Regions from separate parts of the Homo sapiens genome. Here region 2 is linked to region 1. Evidence: promoter capture Hi-C in 16 types of primary human blood cells and fetal thymus (Javierre and others, 2016). All regions are on one chromosome and are shown on one strand. Each heading gives the region's core, a stretch centred on a gene start or on the middle of the fragment in contact. The rest is flanking DNA. Distances are from core to core; before and after follow the strand shown.

Region 1 (5,604 bases), core at 1-2,500:
GACCCCAGCAGCCCCTCAGCGCCCCCAGAGCCCGTCAGCGTGGGGGAAAGGATTCAGTGGAGGCTGGCAGGGTCCCTCCAGCAAAGCTCCCGCGGAAAACTGCTCCTGTGTCGGGGCTGACCTCTCACTGCCTCTCGGTGACCTCCGTCCTCTCCCCAGCCTGGCACAGGCCGAGGCAGGAGGAGCCCGGACGGCGGGTAGGACGGAGATGAAGAACATCTGGAGTTGGAGCCGCACATCTGGTCTCGGAGCTCGCCTGCGCCGCTGTGCCCCCCTCCTCCCCGCGCCCCAGTCACTTCCTGTCCGGGAGCAGTAGTCATTGTTGTTTTAACCTCCCCTCTCCCCGGGACCGCGCTAGGGCTCCGAGGAGCTGGGGCGGGCTAGGAGGAGGGGGTAGGTGATGGGGGACGAGGGCCAGGCACCCACATCCCCAATAAAGCCGCGTCCTTGGCCAAGCGGAGCGGTGGTTCCTCAGCGCGTGCGGAGAACGAGGCGGCAGGAGGCGTCCGAGGCGCGAGCTGGAAGTCTCAACCCCCGTCCCACTCCTGCCCAGGCCCCGGGCGCTCCCGCGTCCCCTCCCCGCGCCCGTCGCGGGTCCTACCGAAACTCGGCGGCCGCACAGCGTCGAGACGCCCCCCGTGGGGGCCCGGGGAGCCGGGGCGAAAGGGAGGGTCCCGGAGGTCGGGGAAGAGGGAGAAAGGGAGAAGAAATTCGAGAAACTAGCCACGCGGGGAGAACCAGACAAACCGGGTCCCGGCAGGGCGGGCGCAGCCGCCAGGGCGGAGCCGGGTCTGGGGCCCCGGGAGTGGGGGGCAGGCCCGCGAGCTGGAGGGTACGCTCCGCCTTGGCGGCTCGGGACTAGGGTGGAGGGGCCGGGAGCCCCGGGGCCCGTGCGCTCCGGCTCTGCCGGGCTCCTCGTGACGCGGCACCCACGGCCCCCGGCACCGACGGGAGCCCTGCCCGCGAGGCGAGGGCTCCGCCCTCGGCCCCGCCCCAGGCCGGAGCCCCAAATTCCGGCGGGTGCCCGGGAGCGGGGCGAGGCCCGGAGCGCAGGGGGAGGAAGGCAGCTCCGCACGGGCGGGCGAGGAGCGGGGCGCCCAGGCGCGCGCCAGCCGGGGTGGCCGGGTCGCGAGGCCGCGGGGTAGGCGGCCCGAGCGCGGCTGGACGGCCCCGCCCCTCCCGGCCAGCACCGCCCCCTGCGCGCCCCGCCCCCTCCTTCCCGCAGCCCCCACCCCCGCCCCGGCTCCTCAACACAAACTTTCCGTCCCGCTCGCTCCCTCCTCCGCGCTCGGCGCCTCCCGCTCCAGCCCGGCTCATTCCGCACATTCCGGCCAGCCCCCTCCCCACGACCCCCCTTCCCCGGCCCCCCTTGCGGCTCCCTCGGGCCCGGCGGAGCGGCCCGGCCGGAGCGCCCCCGCGAGCTCGGACCAGGTAAGCCGGGCGGACGCCGGGAGGAGGCCCCGCTCGGGAGAGGTGGTTTGGTTGGTCGGCTGGGCTGGCTGGGGGGGCGACACTCGAGGGGGACTGGGTCCCCGAGCTATTGTCCAGCCGGAGCTGGAGCCCCGGATCGGGGTGCCGGGAAGTTTAGAGGGAAGGGGGAAAATCTCTCCGGGAAGCCCCGCCCCCCGCCCTCCCCACCCCCCCGCGACGGGGACGAGTTGGTCCGGGAAGGTGGGGAAGCCGGGGAGACCGTGTCCCCTGTGCCGTCGCCTGTCCCGCCGTCCGTGCTTGGGGGGTCGGGGCGGGGATCCGGGGGCCGCACAGTGTGGAGGGCCTGCCTGCCACCCTGGAGCTCATATCCGGGGCGCCCAGTCCCGGGCCCCGCCGCCCTTTGGACTCCCGGCCCGCGCGCTCCCGGAGCCCGCCCGGCCTCAGCTCCACGCAGGCCTCGGGCCCGGCCTCCCAGCGCCCAGGCCGGTTTCTGCGCGCGGTGCCGCGGCTGCGCTGGGTTGTGGAGGGTGTCTGGGACCAAAGCCGCGCGCCCCGGCCGTGTGTCCCCTGAGAGGCAGGGAGGGGCTCACGTTCCCTTCAGTTCTGCCGCCTGCGTCGGGGTGCTGATTCAGAGTTCCAGCCCTGAGCGCTGTGAGCTTGGCTCGGAGGGGTCTGGATTTGGGGCCTTTTCTTCCCCACACTTGCTCAGGGCCCTTGTTTAGACTTGACAAGGTTTGAGGGTGGCTGGTCTCCCGCTTCCTACCCCGGTCCCCACCATTGTCTGTCATGCCCTTTATTCCTGCTAGGGGAGGGAGGGCTGGGAGCGCTGGTCTGGATCTGTTTTCCAGCCCAGCTGGGCCCTGGGGCAGTGTCATTGAGACCCCGCTCTGTCAACTTTCCTGGTGAGGGGCCCTGATCCAGGGCTGAGAGATTCTTTCAGTGCGAGGGGGAAGGAGGCCTTGGGGCGGACTTCTCAGGGGCTGTCTTCTTCTGTGTCTTCCCTCTTTCCAGGTAGGGGCAGAACCAGGTCAGGCCTGGACTTGTTGTCCGGAAGAACAGGGCATAGGGGTAGGGGCTGGACACAGCTCAGAGGGGCTGGTGCCCATAGCGGCTCTGCGTATCCAGTCTCTTGTGGCCTGGTTCTCTGTACACATGTTCCACCCCAGTGCTGGGGCCACCTGGGGCAAGGAGGGGAGGCTTTCCTCAAAAGTTGGAGATTTGGGGGAATTATGTCCTCTCCCTTCTAGACTCCTGTAGCCCCCCTCCCACCAAGACCCCTCTCGTAGGGGCACTCCCTAAAGGATGTGGTTCTGTGGTCTTCTGGGTCCCTGCTCACCCAGTGGGCAGAGTGCACAGATCTTCCAGGACAAGGCTGTCCAGTAAGGGTAACTTCAGGGGCCCTGGATGCCCCCTCCTCAGGGAGAGGGTAGGAGCCAGTATGAGTCCCAAGCTCTTGGGCCTTCCCCTACCCCCCCAGGGAGGGAACGTCATTAATGCTAATGAGCGCATCTGGGCTGGGGAATGGCTTGTTAGAGTGGTCAGTGGTTGCCAGGACAGAGCAGCACATTAAGTGTACAGAAGCATCACATGGGTCCTGAGCCCTGCTCCCATCCTCACCCAAAGGTTTGTAGACCCTGGCACTTTCTGCCAACTGAAGGAATGTTAAAACCGGGAGGATTTGATATTCTCAACAATATCAAAGGAGAAGATATCTCAACAGAGGTGGTCAAGAAATAGGGATCTGGTCCCCTCCGGACCTTTAACCAGTTGCGCCATCTTGGCAGGCCCCTTTGGGCCTCAGTTTCCCTGCTTGGAATGAATGACTTCTCAAGTCCCTTTTCTCTGAGCTCCTCCCAGAGTCTGTCTCCCAGTTTGCCTTCCTTCTCCCATGATGGAACCTGAACTTGGTGGGGTCTGGAGAGGCGGGTGGGTGATCCAGTGGCCCAAAGAAGAAGGCAAGGACAAACCAAGGGGTGACTGAGGAGTAGCTCAGCCAGATGAACAGGGCTGAAAAGGTGGCGGGGGGCAGGTGTCAAGGGACAGGGGGGCTTGGTGGATTGGGGGATCTTGCCTCTGAAGTGGTCATGGGTTCTGTTAGGGCTGAATGGCACAAAGGGTGCTCAGAGGCCGCTTGGGTGGCTCTACCCTCTGCCCCACTCCCAGACACCTGTGGGGGTCCCAGGGCTCAGTGTGGAAATCGCTGGTCCTGCCCTCCTCCTCCTCCCCGCCCAGGATGGGGAGAGGAGCCCAGGGGTCTAAACGCTGCAGCTTTCTGTGAAGGGGCTAGGAGGTCGCAGCCTCTTCTTCCCACATGGGGGCTGCAGAAGCTGTGGGGTCCCAGGGGTGGCCCTGAGGATCTGCCTCTGGGTAGAGCTGGGGAGGTCAGCAGGTCACACTCGGCACTGTCCCTGGGGCCTTGCCCTGCCTTCCCTCCCCTCCCCTCCTGGTGTTGTGCCAGCCCTGGGCTGTCTGCAGAAGGGGCCACTTCCCTCCAGGGAGAACCCTGCCAGGGAAAGGGCTCTGCCTGTCTTCCCCGACCCACAGGAGGTTGAGGTTAGGGCCAGAGAGGTTCATCCCCCTGCACATCCCTAAAGCCTCAGCCCTTGGGGTTTCCTAGAGTGCCGATTGTTTCCTGTGCTCCCTGCCAGGCCTGAAAGGGCAGGAAGTGTTAGAGGGAAATGAGAATGCAACTGTGTGTGACGCTGGATGTGTGTGAGAGAAGCCATGAGTGGGACATTCTATGTGGGTGAGACTTGTCTTCTGTGGGGCTGGATGTGTGTGGAAGAGAACCTTGGTCAGAGCAACTTGTGCAGGGCTGGGTGTATGCAGGAGAGAAACTGTGGCTTTGTGACATTCGTGTGTGTGACAGATATACACGTCCATAAGAGAAACTGGGTGACTCTTCATGTGTCCAGGTGTGCCGCCACCTCTGTACCTGAGAACCTGCATGGGGGATGTTCTGTGTGTGCCAGGGCATCACCCAGGATGTGCCGATGAAGGAAGCTGGCTGCCTAGCCATCTGTGTGTACCTGGAGATGACACTGGGTGTGGCTCTGATGCTCAAGTGACCTGCGTGTGAAGGACACCGCACTCGCACGATGCTGTGTGTATGTGAGCGCGCGGGCGCGTGTGCGTGAGAAGCCGGATGAGTGGCGATCTGTGTGATGTGTTACGCTGTGGTGTGACCACTTGTGACCTGCATGTTGTGACGCAGCATGTGAGATGGCCTCAGGTTTGTCTGTGTGTGACTTACATGTGACACTACATGCGAGTAAAACAACATGACCAGCTCTGTGTCAGTATGATGTGTGTACCAGCAAGGTGGGCCCCATCCGACATGTGCCAAGCATGAATATGGTATGCGGTGTGTGGGTGACACTGAGCACCAGAAAGCGACACCGTATGTGAGAGAAACCGTGGGGCGTGACTGATGCTGGCGCTGTGGGTGGGTGGTCACTATCTGAGCGTGTTTGGGACTCTCGGGTAGTGTGGGTGACACCCCCAGGGCTGTGCCAGGCAGGGCGTGTAGGAGGCTCTGTGGGATGCTTTTGGGGGCCTGTGGTCCCTGACGTGTGGCATCTATGTGGAAGACAATGAGAAAGACACTGATAAAAACAAAGAAGGAATGTAATTAATGCCTCTCAATTGTACACTTAGAAATGGCTAAAATGGTAAACTTGATGTTATGTATATTTTATCACAATAAAGACATTTTTAAAAACCCAGCAGGAGAGAGATGCGGGTAACAGTGAATGAGCAGGACAGTGGCTGTGACGCAACTGTGTATGCGAGCGAGAGGAAGGGCGCAGAGGAAACCTATTTGTTCTTAGATGACACCGTGACTCTCATGAGGGCACTGACTGAGTGGCTGGTGGGAGCCCAGTGGGCGACCCAGAGTACCAGGAGTCTGGCATGGTAACTGAGAACTGAGAAACCCAGTGACCCCCTATAGTCTGTCTCTCACTGGATACCTGAGATTCCCACCCTGGGACCAGGACAAGATGAGGAGATAAGTCAGTCCCAGGGAGGGGGTGAAGGGAGGTCTGGAAACTGGGCCCTTCTCTCTACAGGGGACTTGAGGGCTGAGTCTCCACCCTCCTACCCGCTATACTGCTTCAGGGAGCAGGAGCGTGACAACAGATGAGATGAGCTTTGCAGAAGGAGGCCTGGGGG
Region 2 (6,137 bases), core at 2,608-5,107, 320 kb before region 1:
TGGAGTGCAGTGGCGCGATCTCAGCTCACTTCAACCTCTGCCTCCTGGGTCCAAGAGATTCTCCTGTCTCAGCCTCCCGAGTAGCTGGGACTACAGCTGCGAGCCACCGCACCCAGCTATTTTTTTTTTTTTTTTTTTTGAGACGGAGTCTCGCTCTGTCACCCAGGCCGGACTGCGGACTGCAGTGGCGCAATCTCGGCTCACTGCAAGCTCCGCTTCCCGGGTTCACGCCATTCTCCTGCCTCAGCCTCCCCAGTAGCTGGGACTACAGGCGCCCGCCACCGCACCCGGCTAATTTTTTGTATTTTTAGTAGAGATGGGGTTTCACCATGTTGGCCAGGATGGTCTTGATCTCTTGACCTCATGATCCACCCACCTCGGCCTCCCAAAGTTCTGGGATTATAGGCATGAGCCACCGTGCCCGGCCTGTTTTCATCTTTAACCACATAACAGGTGGTTATCCTTCTCTCACCCCCAAAGAAGGATGAAATGTTTCCTATCACTTCCTTATGGAGCAGTGGGCCCCGGGCTTGGCCAGAGAGGACCTGAGTTCTGGGCTTCTTTGCCACTGCCTTTCTGGGAACTTCTGAGTGACTTTCCCTTTTGGGCTTCAAGTTCCTCATGTGGGAAGAGTCCTTGGTTATAGTGCACAGAGGAGTTTGGCTGCTGCTTCTAATCCAAGGGCTAATGTGAAGACAGCTATGGGGAAAAGAGACTGGAGAGGTTTCTGAGGTGTAACAGGTCCCCAGTGATGGCCACCTGCTGAGATCAGGCATTTGGGGATTCACAGGGGTGCAAGACAGGCCTTGCCCTTGACTTGGGGAAGAAATTTATGCTCTGAAAAATTAGCCCAAGACAGGCAGGGGAAGAGCCCAATGAGAAACAGAAGCAAAAGGCACCCTAGGAAGAAGGGAGTAATGGGAAGCAATCAGGGAGGGCTTCCTGGAGGATGTGCTTGGGCCTCAAGGATCAGCTACAGCTGACTTTTATGACTGACAGGTAGGATTTGGATGGGAGGGAATTGAAACAGGACGAACATTACGAGAATCCCAAGGCTGCTGTTCCTCCAGGGATCTCGGGCTCCCACCAGCTGCACTGCAGGAGCTGTCACTTCTGCACCCTCATTGGCCTGTTCTCAAGGTCGCACTCCCTCCCCAGCAACTCATCTGCTGTTGTTCCCCATCTCCACCAACAAACTTCCAGGAATATTACTTCGAGACCCCGCCTCAGTGCCTCCTTCTAGGGGAGACCACACTTAGCCCCCAAGGCTGGATTGCAGCTCTCTCCCCTATAGCCTCTGAGAGTGTAGAGGGGTGAGGGGGACATTCCTTTATCACAGATCGCCTTATCACCTGCTAGCTTGCAACCCTCCACTGGCCTTTGATTTCAGGGAGGACAAGGGGTGTGTCTGATTAGTCTTGGTGTCCCCATCCCTTGGCCAGGGACCAAGCCTTAGAGGACTGGCTAAGATGAACCCCCACCCACATCCCAGGGTCTCCAGGCAGGGGACACCATTGTGGAGTTGGGTGATTACCGGTTCCATCTGCCTTGTAGTCGTCAGGGAGGAGCTTGTCCTGCCGGTAGCCCAACACGAAGGCCAGGAAGGAGAGGATGAGGGCGTCGCCAATGCTGAGGATGGCCAGCATGAAGGCCCAGCGGATGGTGCAGTGGCCCAGCGTGTACTTGCCCGTCTGCTCCCCACACATGCGCCGCACCTCACTTGAGTCCCAACCATCAGGGTAGACCAGGCAGCCAATCATTAGGCCTGTGGCTGAGGGGGAAGGAGGGGTGCACATGGCATCAGGCCGAGTGTGCCTAGCCCGCTACCTCCCACACCTTGCACTGCTGTTATGTTGTCACCTCCCTTCTCCTTCTGTTAACAGCCTCAGGAGGCATGAGAGGCAGCCTCTACCATCCTTCTTGCAGAACACAGGTGAGAAAACTGAGGCTCTGAGAGTTAAAGCAACTGGCCCCCGAGACCCAGTAGTTGGGGCGGAGGCAGAGCTGAGCTCCTAAGCCCAGGCCGGCTCTGCCACCACACCAGGTGGTCCTCCCAGGCCTTCAGCCATTCTCCTCACCTTGGACTCAACCAGGCACCACCTACCCTGGCTTCAAAGCCCTCCGGTATCTAGTCCCAGCCCAAAGAACTCATCACTGCTGAGATGTACATTTCTTCGTACTTACAACATCTGTGAAATAAGCTCAATAAGAAAGTGTCTAGCCTGGGGGTGGTGGCTCACACCTGTAATCCCAGCACTTTGGGAGGTCGAGGCGGGCAGATCACCTGAGGTTGGGAGTTTGAGACCAGCCTGACCAACATGGAGAAACCCTGTTCTCTACTAAAAATACAAAATTAGCAGGGAGTGGTGGTACATGCCTGTGATCCCAGCTACTGGGGAGGCTGAGGCAGGAGAGTAGCTTGAACCCTGCAGGCAGAGGTTGCGGTGAGCTGAGATCACACCATTGCACTCCAGCCTGAGCAACAAGAGCGAAACTCCGTCTCAAAAAAAAAAAAAAAAAAAAAGGAAAAGGAAAAAGAAAGTGTCAGGCCATGGCCAGATTATCAGTATATTTTGTTTTTATGGTACATAGAATAACAGTGTGTCCTACAACTCAGGTATCTTAGATTTAATGTATACAGGAAGGCTTTCCAGACTGTCCCTGGCTGCTTCCTTCAAAAGCCTTCCATTCAAGCAAACAGGTTTCCTCCTCACTCTTACCCAGTACAGCATAGTCCAGTTGCTACACGTCCCTAAATTTAAGAATCCCCTGGAGGCCGGGTGCGGTGGCTCACGCCTGTAATCCCAGGACTTTGGGAGGTCGAGGTGGACGGATTACAAAGTCAGGAGATCGAGACCATCCTGGCTAACACGGTGAAACCCCGTCTCTCCTAAAAATACAAAAATTAGCCGGGCATGATGGTGGGCGCCTGTAGTCCCAGCTACTCGGGAGGCTGAGGCAGGAGAATGGTGTGAACCTGGGAGGCGGAGCTACAGTGAGCCGAGATGGCGCCCCTGCACTCCAGCCTGGGCAACAGACCAAGACTCCATCTCAAAAAAAAAAAAAAAAAAAAAAAATGCTAGTTCCTAGGTCATGGTTGGGTTCAATAATCCCTGTTTTCAAAAGCACTCTTCCAGGTGATTTTCTCAGTAGGAAAAGCTGGGAAACACTAGACTAGGCTGCCTGGATTTCAAACCCAGTTCTCTGCTACCTAGCTATGTGACTCAGAGCAAGCAACTTAAGCTTTCTTTTCTTTTTTTTTGAGACAGAGTCTTGCTCTGTCGCCCAGGCTGGAGTGCAGTGGCACGATCTCGGCTCACTGCAACACCCGCCTCCCGGATTCAAGTGATTCTCCTGCCTCACCCTCCTGAGTAGCTGGGATTACAGGCATGTACCACCATGCCCGGCTAATTTTTGTATTTTTCATAGAGACGGGGTTTTGCCACGTTGGCCAGGTTGGTCTTGAACTCCTGGGTTCAAGTGATCCGCCGGCCTTGGCCTCCCAAAGTGCTGGGATTACAGGCGTGAGCCACCGTGCCCAGCCATACTTAAGCTTTGTTTGCCTCAGTTTCCTCATCTACAAAATGGACATAATAATAACCCTAACCTTCCTGTTGTGGTTACAGCAAGGTTCAAATGAGTTAATACTGGAAAAGAGTGTAGAACAGTGCCTGGCACAGACTTGGCACTCCATAAGAGTTGACTGTGAGAGTTATTATCACACCCTGTGCCTTACTTGACTTATTATTTACAGCTAAAAATTCTGTTGCCCCCACTTTCCCCCCACTTCTTCCATCCCTTTCCATCAAACCATCCCCTCACCTTAGCTTTGCTGGGGTGAAGCAGAGACAGGTGACATAATCCAGGATGCAACTGGGGCAGCCAGCCCCAGGCACAGCTGCCCCACGGGCAGGGGGTGCTCCCCTTATCTGTGCCACTTTCCCACAGGTCTGGAGGCTCTCTAGTCCCAAGGTTGTACCCTACTCAGGAGACCCTCAGAAAAGCACCTCTTCAGGCCTAAAGTTACCTTCCCTGCTTCCAGCTTGTTCTACAAAGAAGGTCAGGAGGTCAAACAAATGCACAGTAAATGGAAAAATCAGGGTCCCACCTCCCCACCTAAATGTATCACGCTTCCTTTGATCTTTTTTAGGAGAAGCTTATTTAGATAGTTCTTTATAGATCACAAAATACTTCATGTACCATCTTGACTGTGATCACCTTTCTGTGAAGTGGGCTGGCTATTAATATCCTCATTTTACAGATTAGAAAACTGAGGGCTCAAAGAAACCAAGTGACTTACCAGCCATCCAGTCATCCAGCTATGACAGGGCCAAGGCCTGAGTTCTCCATTCCTGACTTTCCTGACTTCAAAGTTTATTCCCTCCACCCCCAGAACATGACATCTCTCCCAGGGGCTGAATGTAATTAGCGGTGACATTTCAGACTTCCTACGTGTTCAGTGAAAACTAAGTGTTCAGGAAGATACCCACGGTGGAGGAGAGGGAGCCATCCACAGCTCCGTGGTGAAACCTACGTAGCCAGCCCTTCCCCGACTTGATGTGAGTCCAGCCCTCCAGTGCCTGGCAGGGCCCCTGGCTTCATGGGCAGAGGTGAAGGTGGGAAGGAGCTGCCCTTCCAGGCTTTGCATTCTCTCCATCACTTCCTCCCGTGGCCCCTCCCCTCCTGCACCATCTTCCTGTGGGGGCTCCGGAAAAAAGCCCAGGGCCTCTGACCTGGAAACAGGGTGTTGGTGCCACAGTCCCCTGCGAGCACTCTACCCATCCACCCACGGTTCTGGGGACAGTGGGTGTCAGCCCCAGTTGTGGCATCTCAAGGCTCTAAGCAGAAGCCAGCACAGTGTTCTCAGGCCAGGTTACTTACCCTCTCTGACTTCCGTCCTGTTGTCTGTAAAGTATCTGACTCATAGCAGCACTGTGAGGATTAAGTGTGATCATTTACAGAAAACGCTTACTATGATGTCTTGTACATGGAAAGTGGCCAATTAATGTTAGTCACTGCTATTATTATTGACATTGGAGTCAGACAGAAGCCACCTCAGTGACATGGATGCCATTAGAGCTGCTCACGAATATTCCAGGTGCAAGGCAAGGTTGTACTTCCTTGCTCCGCTCTCTTGAGGTTAAGTGAGGCCATCTGCCTTCCTCTGGCCAATGACATGTGAGCAGAGATGTGTGTATTTCCGGGCCACAGCACTTAGCTGCAGTGGGAGACCTCCCAGAGTTCCCTTCCCTCTGATGCGAGGACAGCTGATGGTGACTGATGCCACTAGCGAGGGTCCCAGGAGACAACAGTGAGAGCGGAGCCCCCACCGATCCCCGGTTGGCACGGACCATAAGCAAGAAATACATAAACCGTTGTTCTAAGCCACCAAGATTTGGGAGTGGTTTGTTACTACGGCATCACTTCTCATGCTCACTGATATAGTTGTTTCTTGTGTTTTTCTTTTCTTTCTTTTTTTTTTTTTTTTTTGAGACGGAGTCTCACTCTGTCGCCCAGGCTGGAGTGCAGTGGCGCGATCTTGGCTCACTGCAAGCTCTGCCTCCTGGGTTCACGCCATTCTCCTGCCTCAGCCTCCCAAGTAGCTGGGACTACAGGCGCCCGCCACCAAGCCCAGCTAATTTTTTATTTTTGTATTTTTTTGTATTTTTTGGGGGGATTATCCCCTGCCCACAGGGCAGCTGTGCCTGGGACTTTCCCAGTTGCATCCTGGATTATGTCACCTGTCTAATTTTTTTGTATTTTTTTGTAACACGGGGTGTCACTGTGTTAGCCAGGATGGTCTCGATCTCCTGACATCATGATCCACCCACCTCGGCCTCCCAAAATGCTGGGATTACAGGCTTGAGCCACCATGCCCAGCCTGTTTTTTGTGTTTTTCACAGGTACTGAGCACTTACCATGTGCAAGGTGTTTTACATGCATTCTATTATCCCATCTTCACAGAACCCCCCTGAAGTGGGTACTGCTGCTATGTTCTACAGATGGGGTACAGTGGAATGTTTGTTCCTCCCAGATTTCCTGTGTTGAAATCCTAACCTCCAGTGTGATGGTGTTAGGAGGTGGGGCCTTTGGGAGGTGATTAGGTCATGAGGGTAGGGCCCTCCACGAATGGGATT

What was found. Contacts are between HindIII fragments. The CHiCAGO score rates a contact against its expected background, and 5 or more counts as called.
Region 2: a contact is called between a fragment that was not itself captured here and the fragment with the promoter of TEAD3 in region 1, in 1 of 17 cell types (M1 macrophages). The highest score is 5.4, in M1 macrophages.

Annotation. Positions count from the first base shown.
Region 1 is chr6:35,492,725-35,498,328 of GRCh38, reverse strand. It overlaps TEAD3 (TEA domain transcription factor 3), which reads left to right and starts at 1,250. Exons shown (of 13, transcript NM_003214.4): 1 at 1,250-1,431. TULP1 (TUB like protein 1) reads left to right here. Exons shown (of 15, transcript NM_003322.6): 15 at 1-455. The coding sequence ends at 2. It overlaps LOC124901309 (a long non-coding RNA gene), which reads right to left and starts at 196. Exons shown (of 2, transcript XR_007059561.1): 1 at 122-196. RefSeq lists enhancers at 1-343, 344-1,274, 2,221-3,006, 5,432-5,604, 5,503-5,604 and silencers at 743-1,072, 1,083-1,212, 1,393-1,442. The HindIII fragment of the contact is 26,537 bases long and covers 1-5,604 here.
Region 2 is chr6:35,810,180-35,816,316 of GRCh38, reverse strand. It overlaps LHFPL5 (LHFPL tetraspan subfamily member 5), which reads right to left. Exons shown (of 4, transcript NM_182548.4): 2 at 1,535-1,771. Among named protein-coding and RNA genes, the nearest start is that of LHFPL5, 7.9 kb to the right of the region's middle. The HindIII fragment of the contact is 603 bases long and covers 3,556-4,158 here.